Regions from separate parts of the Homo sapiens genome. Here regions 1, 2 and 3 are each linked to region 4. The links are contacts of gene promoters, found by promoter capture Hi-C in blood cells and fetal thymus (Javierre and others, 2016). All regions are on one chromosome and are shown on one strand. The core of a region is centred on a gene start or on the middle of the fragment in contact, and the rest is flanking DNA. Distances in the headings are between cores, read along the strand shown.

Region 1 (3,581 bases), core at 903-3,402, 490 kb before region 4:
GAGACCATGCCACTGCACTCCAGCCTGGGCAACAAGACCAAAACTCCGTCTCAAAAAAAATAAATAAATAAAAATAAAAGCGGTTTGTAAACTGTAACACCTTGCACAGAAACACAAGATTACTACTATTAAATATTATTTAGAAAAGTAGAGTTCTTCTTACCATTTCCCTGTTTCTTTCTTCTCACTTCCTCCTTTCCCCTTCTGACCATCTTTTCAGCCGTGAACATACCACACCAGCAAGAACAATAAGAGCCAAGGGTCTGAATTGTTTAATCAAAGGAAGAGTCAAAATAAGCTACACCCAGATTACTGAGAAAGGTGAAATGAAAACAAGCTCAAAACCAAATTCCAGGAAGATGCTGTCTTTGTATTGACTTACCATTTCATGTTTTCACACATGTCAAAGTCTTGAAGCTTCGGTCATTAGTCTTCCGCTTCCTAAAGCAAGAAACTAAATGCTGACTTGTGTCGTTTGCCCCAGATGCCACCGGAAATGTCATCTTCTCCCCAGACGCTGGCTTGCAAGCACAGCAGCACCCAGAGGCTAACCTATTTCCCCTATAGCCCAAGCTCTGAGATCTCCCGTCTGGTCACAATGATCTACAGGAGAGGAAGAAAGCTATCTAGGGACGAGATCTAGAATCAACTGAGAGAGATGCTTAAAAATCACCAGTTACTTTAATGAGTAAGTACTTTTCAGTTTTTCCATTTTATCTGAAACTTTAAGTTGGCATTTCTGACCAGCCTTTCTTGAGACCATCATTTTTTGGGCACTTACTGTAGACAGGAATCAGCACCCTAGCCTCCTTCAGCCCACCCCATGTAACACTAAAGAGACAACTGGTGCTTGGCAATAACAAAAATATTAGTGATTGATAAACTTGTAAATTTATTAAAATGGACAGTGAAAGAAAACAGCCAATTTAGTTGTGAACTGGAGAAGGGACGTGAGGCATCTGTTGTCTGCAATCTTGTATGTTGTGGTTGACCACAAAGGCTTGGCATCAGGTTTTACTTCCAGCACTACTTCTTATAAAATGGATGACCTTGGGCAGATTACTCAATCTTTTAGCCTTAATTTTTAAAAGTATAAAATGGAGAAAATTAGAATATGTAGTCCAGGTGCGGTGGCCCACACCCGTAATCCAAGCACTTTGGAAGGCTGAGGCAGGTGGATTATTTGAGTCTAAGTTCAAGACCAGCCTGGACAACATGATGAAACCCTGTCTCTAAAAAAAACTATAAAAATTAGCCAGGCATGGTGGCACAGGCCTGTAGTCCCAGCTACTAGGGAGGCTGAAGTGGGAGGATTGATTGAGCCTGCAGAGTTGCTGCAGTGAGCCATGATTTCGCCACTGAATTCCAACTTGGGCAACAGAGTGAGACAAGAAAGAAACAGAGAGAGAGAGAGAGACAGAGAAAGAAGAAAAAAAAAGAAAGAAAGAAAGAAAGAAAAAGAAAGAAAGAGAAAGAAAGAAAGAAAGAAAGAAAGAAAGAAAGAAAGAAAGAAAGAAGAAAGAGAAAGAGAGAAAAGAAAAGGAAAGAAAGAAAGAAAATAATTTCTTAGGTTGTTTTTGTTTTTGTTTTTTTGTGATGGAGTCTCACTCTGCTGCTCAGGCTGGAGTGCAGTGGTGCTATCTCTGCTCACCGCAACCTCCGCCTCCCAAGTTCAAGCAATTCTTGTGCCTCAGCCTCCCAAGTAGCTGGGATTACAGGCACGCGACACCACTCCCAGCTAATTTTTATATTTTTACTAGAGACAGGGTTTCACCATGTTGGCCAGGCTGATCTTGAACTCCAGACCTCAGGTGATCCGACCGTCTTGGCCTCCCAAAGTGTTGGGATTACAGGCATGAGCTACCGCGCCCTTCTTAGAGTTCTTAAGAAGAATAAAGAGATAAACTGGTAAAACATGTAAATACTTTTTGGAGGGTATGCTAAATAATGCCACTAAATAATTAATGTTGCTAAATAATAAGTTAAATGCTTCATTTAACTGGAAATCTCCCTTAACCACTAAGCCCACTTTCCAGATATGCTAAGGTGGCTCAGAATAACAATAGCAGCGAACATCTGTAGAGTTTACACAGCATTTCATTTGATTTCCACAATTAACTCTAAGGTAGGCAGTGCAGAGCTGTTGACTTATTTTTGGAGCTGGAGGAGAAGAGAGAAGCGAGAGCTCGGCTGGACACGGCAGCAGGGAGAAAAACCCCTAGGTCCGTTGTTGGCACTGAAGTGGGGAAAACCATGGCCTGGGGAAAGGCCTAATGTGAGAAGTTAGTCGGTGTGCATAGGCAGTATGACATTCATTTCACCAGCACAAGATTCTTGTTCCTCAGCTTCCTTAGTCCCTGGACCTTGCTTGTCCTTTCTTCCGCTCCAAGCCGTAGAGCTTGAAACTGGCAAGTCCTCAGTTGCACTGCCAACAGGCAAAGCAGTGGGAACTCAAGTTTCCAGAATCCTCTACAACATAGTGTGAGTAAAAGCCAAGGCAGAGACAGTGTCTTGCTCTGTCATCCAGGCTGGAGCGCAGTGGTGCCATCACGACTCACTGCAGCCACAAACTCCTGGGTGCAAGGTATCCTTCCACCTCAGCCTCCTCCTGAGTAGCTGGGACTACAGACATGCGCCACCACATCCTGATCATTTTTAATTTTTTTTCTTTTTTTTTTTTTTTTTTAGAGACAGAGGTGTAGCTTTATTGCCCAGGGTGGGCTTGAACTCCTGGTCTCAAGCAATCGTCCCTCCTTGGCCTCCCAAAGTGTTGGGATTTCAGGTGTGAGCCACTCTACCTGGCTGAGACTTGCTCTCATTTTTAAATTCAAAAAATGTTTTCCATAGATCGGCCGCCTGTGGAAAAAGGTGACTCAGGCCTGTAATCCCAGCACTTTGGGAGGCCTAGGTGGGTGGATCACCTGAGGTCAGGAGTTCGAGACCAGCCTGGCCAACACGGTGAAACTCCGCCTCTACTAAAAATAGAACAATTATCTGGGCATGGTGGCAAATGCCTGTGATCCCAGCTATTCCGGAGACTGAGGCAGGAGAATCACTTTAGCCCATGAGACAGGGGATGTAGCGAGCCAAGATTGCACCACTGCACTCCAGCCTGGGCAACAGAGTGAGACTCTATCTCAAAAAACAAAAATAAAAAAGTTTCTTTTTCCATAGAAACACTATTACACATAGAATTTAAATACTACAAAAATGGTAACAATAATGATAGCAACAATAATAAAATAATGTCCATTTTTAAAACTCTTTTGGGTAATCCCTTCAGAGGAGCATAGGTGCTATTTCCCCCATTTAAGAAGTAAAAAACTAAGTAGCACAAAGATAAAGTAAGCATTAGAGGTGGAAGAAATCCAGGCCTGCTGACTCAACCCTAGATTCCTGTTACTGAGTAAATGGACTTTTGTAGCTAGTCCTGGAGCAGAATTGTCACAATCCAACCTGTTCATCAGTTGAAAGCACTCGTCATTATTAGCTCTCCAATCGCCCTTGTTTTTCATCCATGGGAACTTTTAATTCAGCCACTGGTTGGAATCTAGAGTAGTCAGCATAAGCCTAAACATTTG
Region 2 (3,355 bases), core at 481-2,980, 400 kb after region 4:
GCAATCCTGTACTCTGCACCACCTCATACTTGATTGACCATTCAGCAAGCAAACAAACAAACAAACAAGCAACTTGAGGACGGATTAGGCTAGACTCTGGCAAGATGTAGAACCTTCCAGAACTCTGGAGGAATTTGAAACAGGCAGAGCTGTGAGGAAAGCTTTTGGGAGCCCACTAGAGATCTGCTTTTCTGGGTAGAGATAGAGAAGGACCCAGGAATCACCTGTGACCTTTGAAGGGCTTTGTTGTTCCTGGGACACATTGATTAACCTGGAATCTGCCATACTTTCTAAGAGAACATAATGGGAAGAAATATGTTTGTTCATTCAGGCTTTTTGTCAAGCACCTCAGCTTGGCAGGCCTCTGGACCCAGGCCCTGTAGAAGTCTTAGAGAAATGCCCCCTTAATAGGTCCTTTACACCCAGATCACAGCCACAGGCACAGTCTGAGCTCAGACTTAAAGAAGGGCAGTTTCTGGAGGCCCCCAGCCTTTCTGATACTCTCAGCAGCTTGCTGAGTTCAGGGTTTCCTCCCCTGTCAAATACATCAAAGTAGATTATTTGTATTGCCTCATGTGCTGATACTTTTATATTATATTGTCAAGTCCTAAGGCCAAGTAGTCATGAGTGTAGCTGGTCCATGTCAGTCACTGACATCTTATTTCACAGCTCTGTTCGTTTGGATTAAACTCTGTCTCTATTTCTAGGAGGCAGCCATGCATAAAGACGAGTTTCATCTGAAATTTTTCATGTGTGTGATTCAGTCTCGCCAGTTAGTCAGGACTCCTCAGAGAACAGGTACCCTTGTCTCCTGATCATACTCCAGTGACAGAGAATGGGTTCTCTCACAAGAAGTCTAAATACAGGATGTGAGGCTTTCTAGTGTAAATACGGATTTTAGGGGTCAACTGACCTTGTTTATCACATTCTCACTTTGATAAAATATTGATCACTGAGTCGTGTATTTTCCAGGTAAGATTTTGACCTGGTTTGTTGTGATAGATGCCAGGCAGATAAGGAGGACTTGAGAGTTGAGGGGGGAACAAAATTTATCCCATGAGCTTGTCATTATTGTGTTGTTATGTGAATTACTTCGACCAGTCTGGGCTCATCTGTGGGAATCTTTATTGTCATTATAACTGACACTCCAAAACTATCAGATAAATCAAGCCCTAAGGAAAAATGGCCTTCTCATCCACCCCACCTCAAAGTATCTAGTTATATGTTCTGCTTTCCCCCATGTATGTCAAGGGAATAGAATCTTTTTGAGGTACATCGCGTCTCTAATTTTTCACTGGATTTTTGGAAAGAAAGCCCTGGACAGCTCAGAGTCATAGGGAAAATGAAAGGGAGTAAGGAACACTCCCTTCCCAGAATCCCACCTTGAGGGTGACCTAAAGCTATTGTTTCTCAGCTGGGGAAGCTTCTACTTCCAGCATGCTCATACCAAAGCCACCACCAAAGACAGACATCTTGAAGAGTCTAGATACTATGGATGATCCAGACACCGTGGGAAGCATACCTGTTTTCAAAACTGGTGAGGCATGTGGGTCAACAGTGAGAAATGTTCAAAGGAATATGGGAAAGTGAAAGTTGTATGCATAGTATTATAAATCAGCGTAGACCTACTAAAGCTGAAATATAAGACCCAAGGGGGAAAGTCTGTGTGTGTGTGAAACAGAGAGAGAGAGAAAGAGAGAGAGAAAGAGAAAGAGGGATGGGGAGGGAAAGGAAGAAGGGAGAGAGGTGGGGATGGATCATCTGGGAAATTGTAGGGAAACAGACACATCTCTATGCAGAATAACTTAATTTGGTCAATATTAAATCAATTGGCTCATAACTGTAAACTACTAATCTGGTTTATCCTATTGTCAGCATCCTTGATATATAAATATGTGAAACTTAAGAAAGTTGACTAAATGAGTTATTATTTTACAAAATGATTCTAAATATTGTAAAAAATTTTCATCTTAGGAAACCATTTAATAATAGATTTCTCATGTATTTTTAAATGTTCAATTCACAGGCAATTTATATGAAGCTTCAGAAACACATCTATGTATTTCGTCTTAACTTAAATACATCTATATTGGAGTCAATTCACTGGAAACCTTTATTGAGTTCCCGCTATTTGCCCAATAATATACTGGAAATGATAGATTATAAAACATATGTATAAGGCATATCCTTGCCATTGCCCCAATAGCTTACACTTTGGAAATGCCTTAGCGATTATTTACCCCAACTCTCTTATATTTTCAGAAGGAACTCAGGACTAAAAGGTTTTCCTCAGAAAGTTGATAATTTCATTAAAGTAACAACTCCTAGCACTTATGAAATATATATCAGTATTTAGCCATATTTTTGAGCACTCACTATTTGAAATCATTGGGCTAGACTCTGTAGGAAATGAGAAAATGAAATAGACACTTTCCCTGTTCCCTAGGAGCTTATGATTAAGGACGGGAGATAATATGGAACAATGTGTAAGTTAAGAACTTAATAATTTTGGTTCAAAATGTTGAATTGGTTCAAAATAAGATGCCATAGAAATGTAGGGTTCAAAATAACTTTGGTTCAAAATAAGATGCCATAGAGATGTAGGGAAGAGAACAGCCAGCTGACTGCTCAGAGCCAGCTTTTCTTTTCCTTCCTTCCTTCCTTCCTCCCTCCCTCCCTTCCTTCTTTCTTCCTTCCTTTCTTTTTCTTTTCTTTCCTTTTTTCTTTTCTTCCTTTTGCAACTGTTTGTGGTCTACATCCCTTTAATCAGACTTCCTTTGCCCCTGCATAGAAAGCAGCAAGAAATAAACCCAGCTGATGGTTTTTTCCTATTGTTTATTGAATTTGTACAGATTATTTCTTATTTGCCCTCATCTTTCCTGCTTTTTTCATTCTCCTTTTGCTCTGGTGTACCTAAAACTCACCTCAGACTCCCTTTGCTCTGATGACTCATTTGGACCTGCTTCTGTGGTTTGAACTCAGCATTGTCTCATGGACAAAATTCTGATGTTCAACTTCTGCCTTTAAATCCTGGGGTCTGTGTGGCTCAGTTAAGTGGCCACTCTTAACCCTTTCAGCTTTCCTACTAGAGAAAGGAAATCTAATATTTTCCCAGCACCAATAAGGCCTCCATTCCTCCTCTTCTGCCTACCTCCCTGCTTCCTTCCTCATCCTTTCCTCTTCCCTTCCTCCTTCCCTCCTACTCTTCCTCCTTCTTTGACTTCCTTCCAAGAGAATGTGTTGAGCACATACTATGTCAAGTACTGTACTTGGCACTGGGAATAAAGTAGTAAACAAAACAGGTACATTGTCTGCTCTCATGAAGTTTATAGTCTTGTGGGACTAAGACAGTAAT
Region 3 (3,268 bases), core at 390-2,889, 490 kb after region 4:
GCGGGCGATTCCTCTTGCCTGGAATTTCACTCGTCCCCGGTATCGAACCCCCGCCCCAATTTTCTACGTTACAACTCCAGCGTATTTTTAACGGCGCAGCCAGTATCACCTCCTTGGTATAAAGCCTGCGCTGTCCTGGACCTTCTTAGGAGTGCAGGCTTAGGAACAGGAGCTATGCTGTTCTATTATTTTTCTTTAGTTTAATTTTTTTTTTTTAGAGATGGGATCTCGCTGTGTCGCCCAGGCTAGAGTGCAGTGGCGGGATCATAGCTTACTGCAGGCTGGGGTCAAGCAATCCTCCCGCCTCAGCCTCCTGAGTGTATGGGATTATAGGCGCAGGCCTCTATGCCATTGTAAATGCTGTGGATTTTGAGTATTTGACCTCTATGAGCCTCAGTTTTTGCATCTCAACATTGAGATAATACTAGTACCTCATAAGGTTATGTGACGATTAAATGGAAAGCTCTTACAATATAAGTGCTTAATAAGTATGTTATCATATGTGCTTCCAAAGTACTTTGTGTAGGCCTTTTATAACGCTTGCCCTTTCTATTACCATTATTTGTTCTTGCCTGCCCTACTAGACTGAGATTCTCAAAAGCTGGAACTGTCTTGTTTATAATCTCAGCGTCTGTCAGTGCTGGGCAAATGTAAAGCTAAGAAATGATTTCTTAGAAAACTTTTTAAAAGCAGTCTTTCTTCTCCTTTCCCTTTCTTCCTTTCCTTCACTTTTTCCTCTTTGAGATAGGAATTTTCAAACCTAGAGAAGAAGCTGAGACCCTAGGGGGAAAGATTGGGACCTTTTTGTTGTTGTTCTCAGTGGTGACCAAAAGAGCCTTAACATTCACCTCAGCCTGACAACTTTAGACAGGTTTCTTCTGGATGTTAGGGCCCTGACCTCCCCTTTCTTTGAGTGTTTACTTTAGAAAACTTGTGATTGCAAAATTCTTCTCTGCTCCTTTGAAATGTGTATAAATCTCCTTAGAAGCTTATGCCAGTTTTACGACCTAGGGAATGTCTTTCTCAAGGACCTGTGAGCCATCCCTTTGAAATGTAATCATCAAGGAAGATAGCACCCCTATCTCTCAGTCTCTGTGGGAGGGTGGGAGCCTAACCTCCTGTGGGTGCCTTGTTTGGAATTGTAAAACTACAGCTTGTTTTGAAGATACAAGAAAGTGTCCTTTTCCTTTGCAGTTAGCAAACACAGATGTCATGTGATTTCCCGTACAGCAGCTCTTAAAAACTTCCCAGACCCTTGTTTGAGTAGTGTTGAGTTTAATCTCGTATTGCAATAGTCTTAAGGTCTTTCTTGCCTGTTTAACTTTGATGCAAATTTTGACAATGGAAATTTTAGGTTCTGCATTTATCGTTTCTTCCCAATTACAGTGGTTTCTCCTTTCTCCTTGTTAAGAAGAGCTTCTCACATCCTCTGATTTCTGGAGAAATCAATTTGGACTCAAAAGATTGGAGTTTTGTGGAGTGAAGCTACTGTTTTTGTTTTGTTTTGTTTTGTTTTGTTTTGCCTGAGATAGAGTCTCACTCTGTCACCCAGGCTGGAGTGCAGTGGTGTAATTATGGCTCACTGCAGCCTCTGCCTCCTGGGTTCAAGTGATCCTCCTGCCTCAGCCTCTCAAGTAGCTAGAATTACAAGCATGCGCTACCACGCCCAGCTAATTTTTGTATTTTTATTAGAGACGGGGTTTCACCATGTTGACCAAGCTGGTCTTGAGCTCCTGGCCTCAAGTAATCTGCCCACCTTGGCCTCCCACAGTGCTGGAATCACAGGTGTGAGCCACCACGTGCTGCCAGAAGCTACTGTTTTAAGTCATCATTGCAAAGGGTAGTGTGTGATGCGCAGGAGTGGAAAGGGCAGTACATCTATTTGAGAGCATCCCAAATGAGGTCCATTCATATTATGGAAGTGCACTGCGAAATAAAGAACAGGCCTACCCCCTTGTTTTATTATGAAGGGGTATGAGAAAAATGCAATTTTCAAAGAAAGAGAACTGCTGAGGATGTAGTACCTTCTCAAAGAAAGCTGTGTTTGGTTAAGGTGAGAAGCTAGAGGAAGCCACAGAGGGCAGGGTTACAAATTGAAAGACTTCTGCAATGGTAGAGGTAGTATGCAGAAGGGTTCCTTAAAATACAGGGATCCATGTAAGATGAGGAGGTAAGGTGGAGTAGGATTGAGGTGGAATGAAATGAAAGATGGAAGAGAAAAAGGAAGGCAGTAGGGGGAGAGGGGAGTTAATTTGGGGTATGGATAACAGGGAAGGAAATAGGTAACCTGAGAAGCTTGGTAGAGGCACTTGCCACTTGCATGGGAAGGGAAATATCATGCAGACGGTCCTGTTGCTAAAGGAAGCTAGAGGATTTAGGAGAAGGGGTTTGGCACACTGGCCTCTATCACCCATCCGTCCCCGACAACACACAACACAGACAAATTGAGTGCACTGTTGACATTTAGTATCATTCTCCCCCCATGACTGGTGGAAGCTAAGAAGATGAAGTTCAGGGTGCTGATCTTTTTTTTTTCTTTAACTGACTTTTCTTATGTGAGTACTTACCCCTAGTTCCCTCTTTCTTCCCTTCCCTTCCCTCCCTCCCTCCTTCCCTCCCTTCCTTCCTTCCTTCTTCTTCTTCATTTTTTTTTTTTTTAATGAGACAAGGTCTTGCTGCGTTGCTCAGGCTGGAGTGCAGCAGTGCTATCATTGCTCGTGCAGCCTTAACCTCCCAGGCTCAAGCAATCCTCCCACCTCAGCCTCCTCAGTAGCTGGGACTACAGGCATGTGCCACCACACCCAGTTCATTTTTTAAATTTTTTGTAGAGATGGGTCTCCCTATGTTGCCCAGGCAGGTCTCAAACTCCATCCTCAGCCTCCCAAAGTGCTGAGATTACAGTCATGAGCCACTGCGCCCAGCCCTTTTTTTCTTGCTTCTTTACCTACTTTTCACAGGAATTGGGTAGATGAGGGTAGACCCAGGAAGTGAGAGTGGAATTTGAGAAAGAAAAACAGTAAAATGAAGAGCTGAAAAATAAAAGAGTTTATTTCTAAATGTATGTACGAAACTCAGGTTGGGGGACTAGCATGTAAAGGTATATACAAATAAAATGGAGTTAAGTGCACTTATTTATTGAATCCTGTTGTGAGAACTTAAGAGGAAAAGAAACTGAGGAAAAAAACTAAGGAAAATCCGAAATTCTCCCGAGGAAGGTCCAAGAAAAAACAATGTGGAAGTGAAGTCAGAGAGATAACATCAGGACATT
Region 4 (3,499 bases), core at 129-2,628:
ATAGGCATGAGCCACCGCGCCTGACCTCTATTTAGAGTTTCAATAAGATTTTTTTTAAAGGGTGGAAGGCCAACCGCAGGTGGCTCATGCCTGTAATCCCGGCACTTTGGGAGGCAGAGGTTGGGGGGCAGGGGGAATAGCTTGGGCTCAGGAGTTCCTAGATCAGCCTGGGCAACACTTCGAGATCCCCATCTCTACTAAAAACACAAAAATTAGCCAGGCGTGGTGGAGGGTGCCTATAGTTCCAGCTACTCAGGAGGCTGAGGTGGGAGGATCGGGAGATCGAGGCCACAGTGGGCGGTGACGGGCCCACTACACTCCAGCCTGGGACCAAAAAAAAAGGAGGGGGGGGAATGAAATGAGTTACGTAAATGAGATTATATGGAGATTACAGTACATTTGCCTTTGATAATATAAGACTTGTTCTTGAGCATAGTCTGGGGAAAAAGCAACAAAGTAAAAGATACAGGAAAAAGGATGAGTGATGGGGCAAAATCTCCAAAAAGGTAGGAGAAGAGTCAAAGCTTTAGGCGGAGGGAAGAGAAGTAAGGTGGGAGGGAGAGAGACGGAATTAGAAAAACATTTGTTTAGGACAGTGAAAAATACCTCACTAAGAAGGGACAGTTGCAGATGCAGATAGGTCTTCTGACTCGTAGCCTCAACAACTAAATTAGGTTTAAGCTTCTTTCAGGCAGTGTCCATGTTTGACCATATATGCACAACTCATTCAAAAACAAAACTAGTACAACGCTTTGTTGGGAACTCAAATAAATGAATAAAAGCGCAACAAGTCAGTGAGATGCTGACGGGGGTTAGATGCTTTTCCATTTCACCCATCACCGCTGCTGCTCGAGCAGGCCCAAAAACTCTCCCAGGGACCCTGCGATGGGGCGGGGGTGCGAGCCAGCAATCAAAAACTTCCAGCGCTGGGGGTATCACTTTCACACCCGCTGTCCCGGCGAACACCGCACACCCACGCCGCAAGGGGGCGGGCCCCACCTCGGTCTTTGCGGGAGGGCGGCTCTGCCTTCCCGAGCACTGCAAAATCGCAGCAGGGTGGAGGGTCCGCCTGCAAAGCAGAGCGCGCAGGCCCGGGTTGCGGGGGCGAGCCCCTCCGGGAACGCGCGACCCGAGACGCCGCTGCCCTGGACACCGACGCGCCGCCTCAACGCGCGCCTCCACCGCCAGCCCCGGCCCGCCCCGCCTCACCGGTACCCATAACCGCTACCCCTCCTCCCACCGGCCACCCCAAGGATCTCCTACGCTGCTCCGGGCAGCGAGAACCGCAACGCCCGCTCACCTGACCAGGCCGTAACCCGCCGCACTGCCACCCCGTCAGCCCCGCAGCGACTCACGCCGAGCCCGGCAGTGACTCACGCAAAGCCCCGCCTCCTGCGCTTCCCCACAAGCCCCCGCGGCCTCGCCCCGCCCCCTTTAGCCTGGGCTTGAGCGCGCGCAGAAGTCAGCTTCGTGACTTCCTTCTCAGGATGGAACCAGCTTGGTGGCTTGAGGGTATGTAAAAGCAATATCTGAGCCTTCTGCCTGCTTCCAATATGACTAAGCTTAAAAGGAGATAACCCAAAAACTGCAGGATCATCCTGATTTTCTGATCTCCAAAACAATAAAACCTTGAATATTTCCCTGGACTCCCTTAAACAGTTTAATCCCTAATATTTACCTTGCTAATCTCTGACCTTTGTGACATTAATTTGTCTGACCTTTGTGAGTATAATAACCATGTGAGAAAGTTACTGTTTTTCCACCATGAACAGACTACTGTCAACCGGTAATCCTGGTAATTTTAGGGGATTTTTTTTTCCCTTTAAGTACTGGTTGGCAAACTAGTCCTTCCGTCTAACTCCTCGCATCTTTTGCAAGTAAACCCCTTTTCTAAGTGAATCTATCTCTGAGTCTTTCTTTGACATGTGCCAGTGTTACAATCTGTCTTTAGATATGCTCTGGCTTACAGAGAAAAAAGAACGAAACTTTTAACACTTTTTGCTTCTGCTTCCCGTGTGAGGGAGTCTTCGTTGCAATGACAACTCTTAAACGAAAGCAAAACAAAAATAATTGCAGAAGTCCACAGAAGCAAACACAAACAAATGAAACTTTCCATTTAAAACAGGACTGTAACCTCAAATATCCTCAAAATCCAGATCGGTGGTTCTCAGTCTTGACTGAGCTTTGGAATCACTTAGGGAGTATATACATATACACGTGTGTGTGTGTGTGTGTTTGTGTCTGTGTGTGTGTGTGTGTGTGTGTGTGTGTGTGTGTGTGTGTGTATACTGATTTCTGTGTCCTATCCCAGAGATTCTGATGTAACTAGTCTTGAGTGAAGCCAATCAGAATTTTTTAAAGCATAGGATACGGCTGTGCATTTGAAGCTGGAAGCCACTAACCCAGGCGCTGATCAATGAAGAACTAGGCTGGAGTGCTGTCTTACAAGGTCATATCATTAGCACATCCTTCCCATTGCTTAATTATTGGTATCTTTATATTTTAAAATCATAGTAGTCAAATCATTAAGTGTACGTCAAAATATTTACTAATGAAATGATTCTTTGGTTGTATTAGGGAGATAGAGAACTGACTTTTAATAATTTTTTTATTAAGTATTTAAAAGCAAATATTGATTTACTGGTGTTTTTAACAAAAGCAACCACATTTGTTTTATTAATTCTGACAGAGTTGATTGAGAAGAGAGATAAGGGGGCTAGCTGGCTGCTCTAGTAAAACCTCATAGACCCTTAGGTGACCCTGCTTTTCTCTCTCTTTTTCTCTCTCAAACCATACAATAATCAGAAGTAGCTTAGTGAATATAGAGTCAAAGTGAGAAAAGTTAATCAAATGGTTTTGATGGTCATCATCACCTAATTCTGAGGCTCCTGCTGTCCCACAAAACCTGTGCCTGCAATGGCAGCCTTCTCTCCTGTGAGCTCAGACCTAGGCCACCTTAAGTTCTTTCCTAGATTCCTTGCAGACCTCCCCACTTCTATTGGCAGTTATCTTTAAATGGATTTCAACAAAATGTGTAAATAATGCCTTTCTTTTAAGTCTCTTTTATTCATTTACTCCAGTCATCTCAATTGAACTTATCATTAATACCTGAAGAGTTATTTTCAAAGAGACAAACCTCTTTATGTGTTTTATGTGTTGCAGTTGTAATGGTCAGTGGAAATAAACAGGAGTGTTTATTATTGCAACAATAAAATGCTGCAATTAATGATTGTAAATGCTATTAATTTTAATATCCAAAACAATTATTGGGCTCTTTCAAATAGTTAAAGAGTCTGACAGTTAATGTAAATCTTAAGAAAGGAAGTATTAGCTAAGTAACTTTAGGAAGAAAATGAACCTTGGGACTTCCTGTTATGGAGATACTATGTTAAGTTTGGTTGCATGTGACAGAAAGCCCAAAATAAGAGTGGCTTAAACATGAAAGATTATTTTTCTTTCATGTAAAACTGAATATAAGCAATCCAGGATTAGTGTGACA

What was found. The method cuts DNA at HindIII sites, captures the fragments that hold promoters and counts their contacts. A CHiCAGO score of 5 or more calls a contact.
Region 1: a contact is called between a fragment that was not itself captured here and the fragment with the promoter of RPAP3 in region 4, in 2 of 17 cell types (naive CD4 T cells and naive CD8 T cells). The highest score is 6.0, in naive CD4 T cells.
Region 2: a fragment that was not itself captured here is called in contact with the fragment with the promoter of RPAP3 in region 4 in 1 of 17 cell types (fetal thymus); the score reaches 6.9 in fetal thymus.
Region 3: a contact is called between a fragment that was not itself captured here and the fragment with the promoter of RPAP3 in region 4, in 1 of 17 cell types (fetal thymus). The highest score is 12.9, in fetal thymus.

Annotation. Positions count from the first base shown.
Region 1 is chr12:47,216,002-47,219,582 of GRCh38, forward strand. PCED1B (PC-esterase domain containing 1B) reads left to right here. Exons shown (of 4, transcript NM_138371.3): 3 at 221-688. It overlaps PCED1B-AS1 (PCED1B antisense RNA 1), which reads right to left and starts at 442. Exons shown (of 3, transcript NR_026544.1): 1 at 383-442; 2 at 164-263. The HindIII fragment of the contact is 3,475 bases long and covers 416-3,581 here.
Region 2 is chr12:48,106,658-48,110,012 of GRCh38, forward strand. It overlaps a transcript of PFKM not described here. Among named protein-coding and RNA genes, the nearest start is that of SENP1, 2.3 kb to the left of the region's middle. RefSeq lists an enhancer at 1-168. The HindIII fragment of the contact is 618 bases long and covers 1,422-2,039 here.
Region 3 is chr12:48,198,907-48,202,174 of GRCh38, forward strand. All of the region lies in intron 1 of LOC102725258 (a long non-coding RNA gene), which reads left to right. Among named protein-coding and RNA genes, the nearest start is that of OR10AD1, 2.8 kb to the right of the region's middle. The HindIII fragment of the contact is 1,307 bases long and covers 987-2,293 here.
Region 4 is chr12:47,704,652-47,708,150 of GRCh38, forward strand. It overlaps RPAP3 (RNA polymerase II associated protein 3), which reads right to left and starts at 1,379. Exons shown (of 17, transcript NM_024604.3): 1 at 1,301-1,379. RPAP3-DT (RPAP3 divergent transcript) reads left to right here and starts at 1,437. Exons shown (of 4, transcript NR_183480.1): 1 at 1,437-1,512. RefSeq lists enhancers at 593-1,094, 1,095-1,594, 1,315-1,609, 1,541-1,690 and silencers at 841-930, 961-1,250, 1,321-1,400. The HindIII fragment of the contact is 881 bases long and covers 680-1,560 here.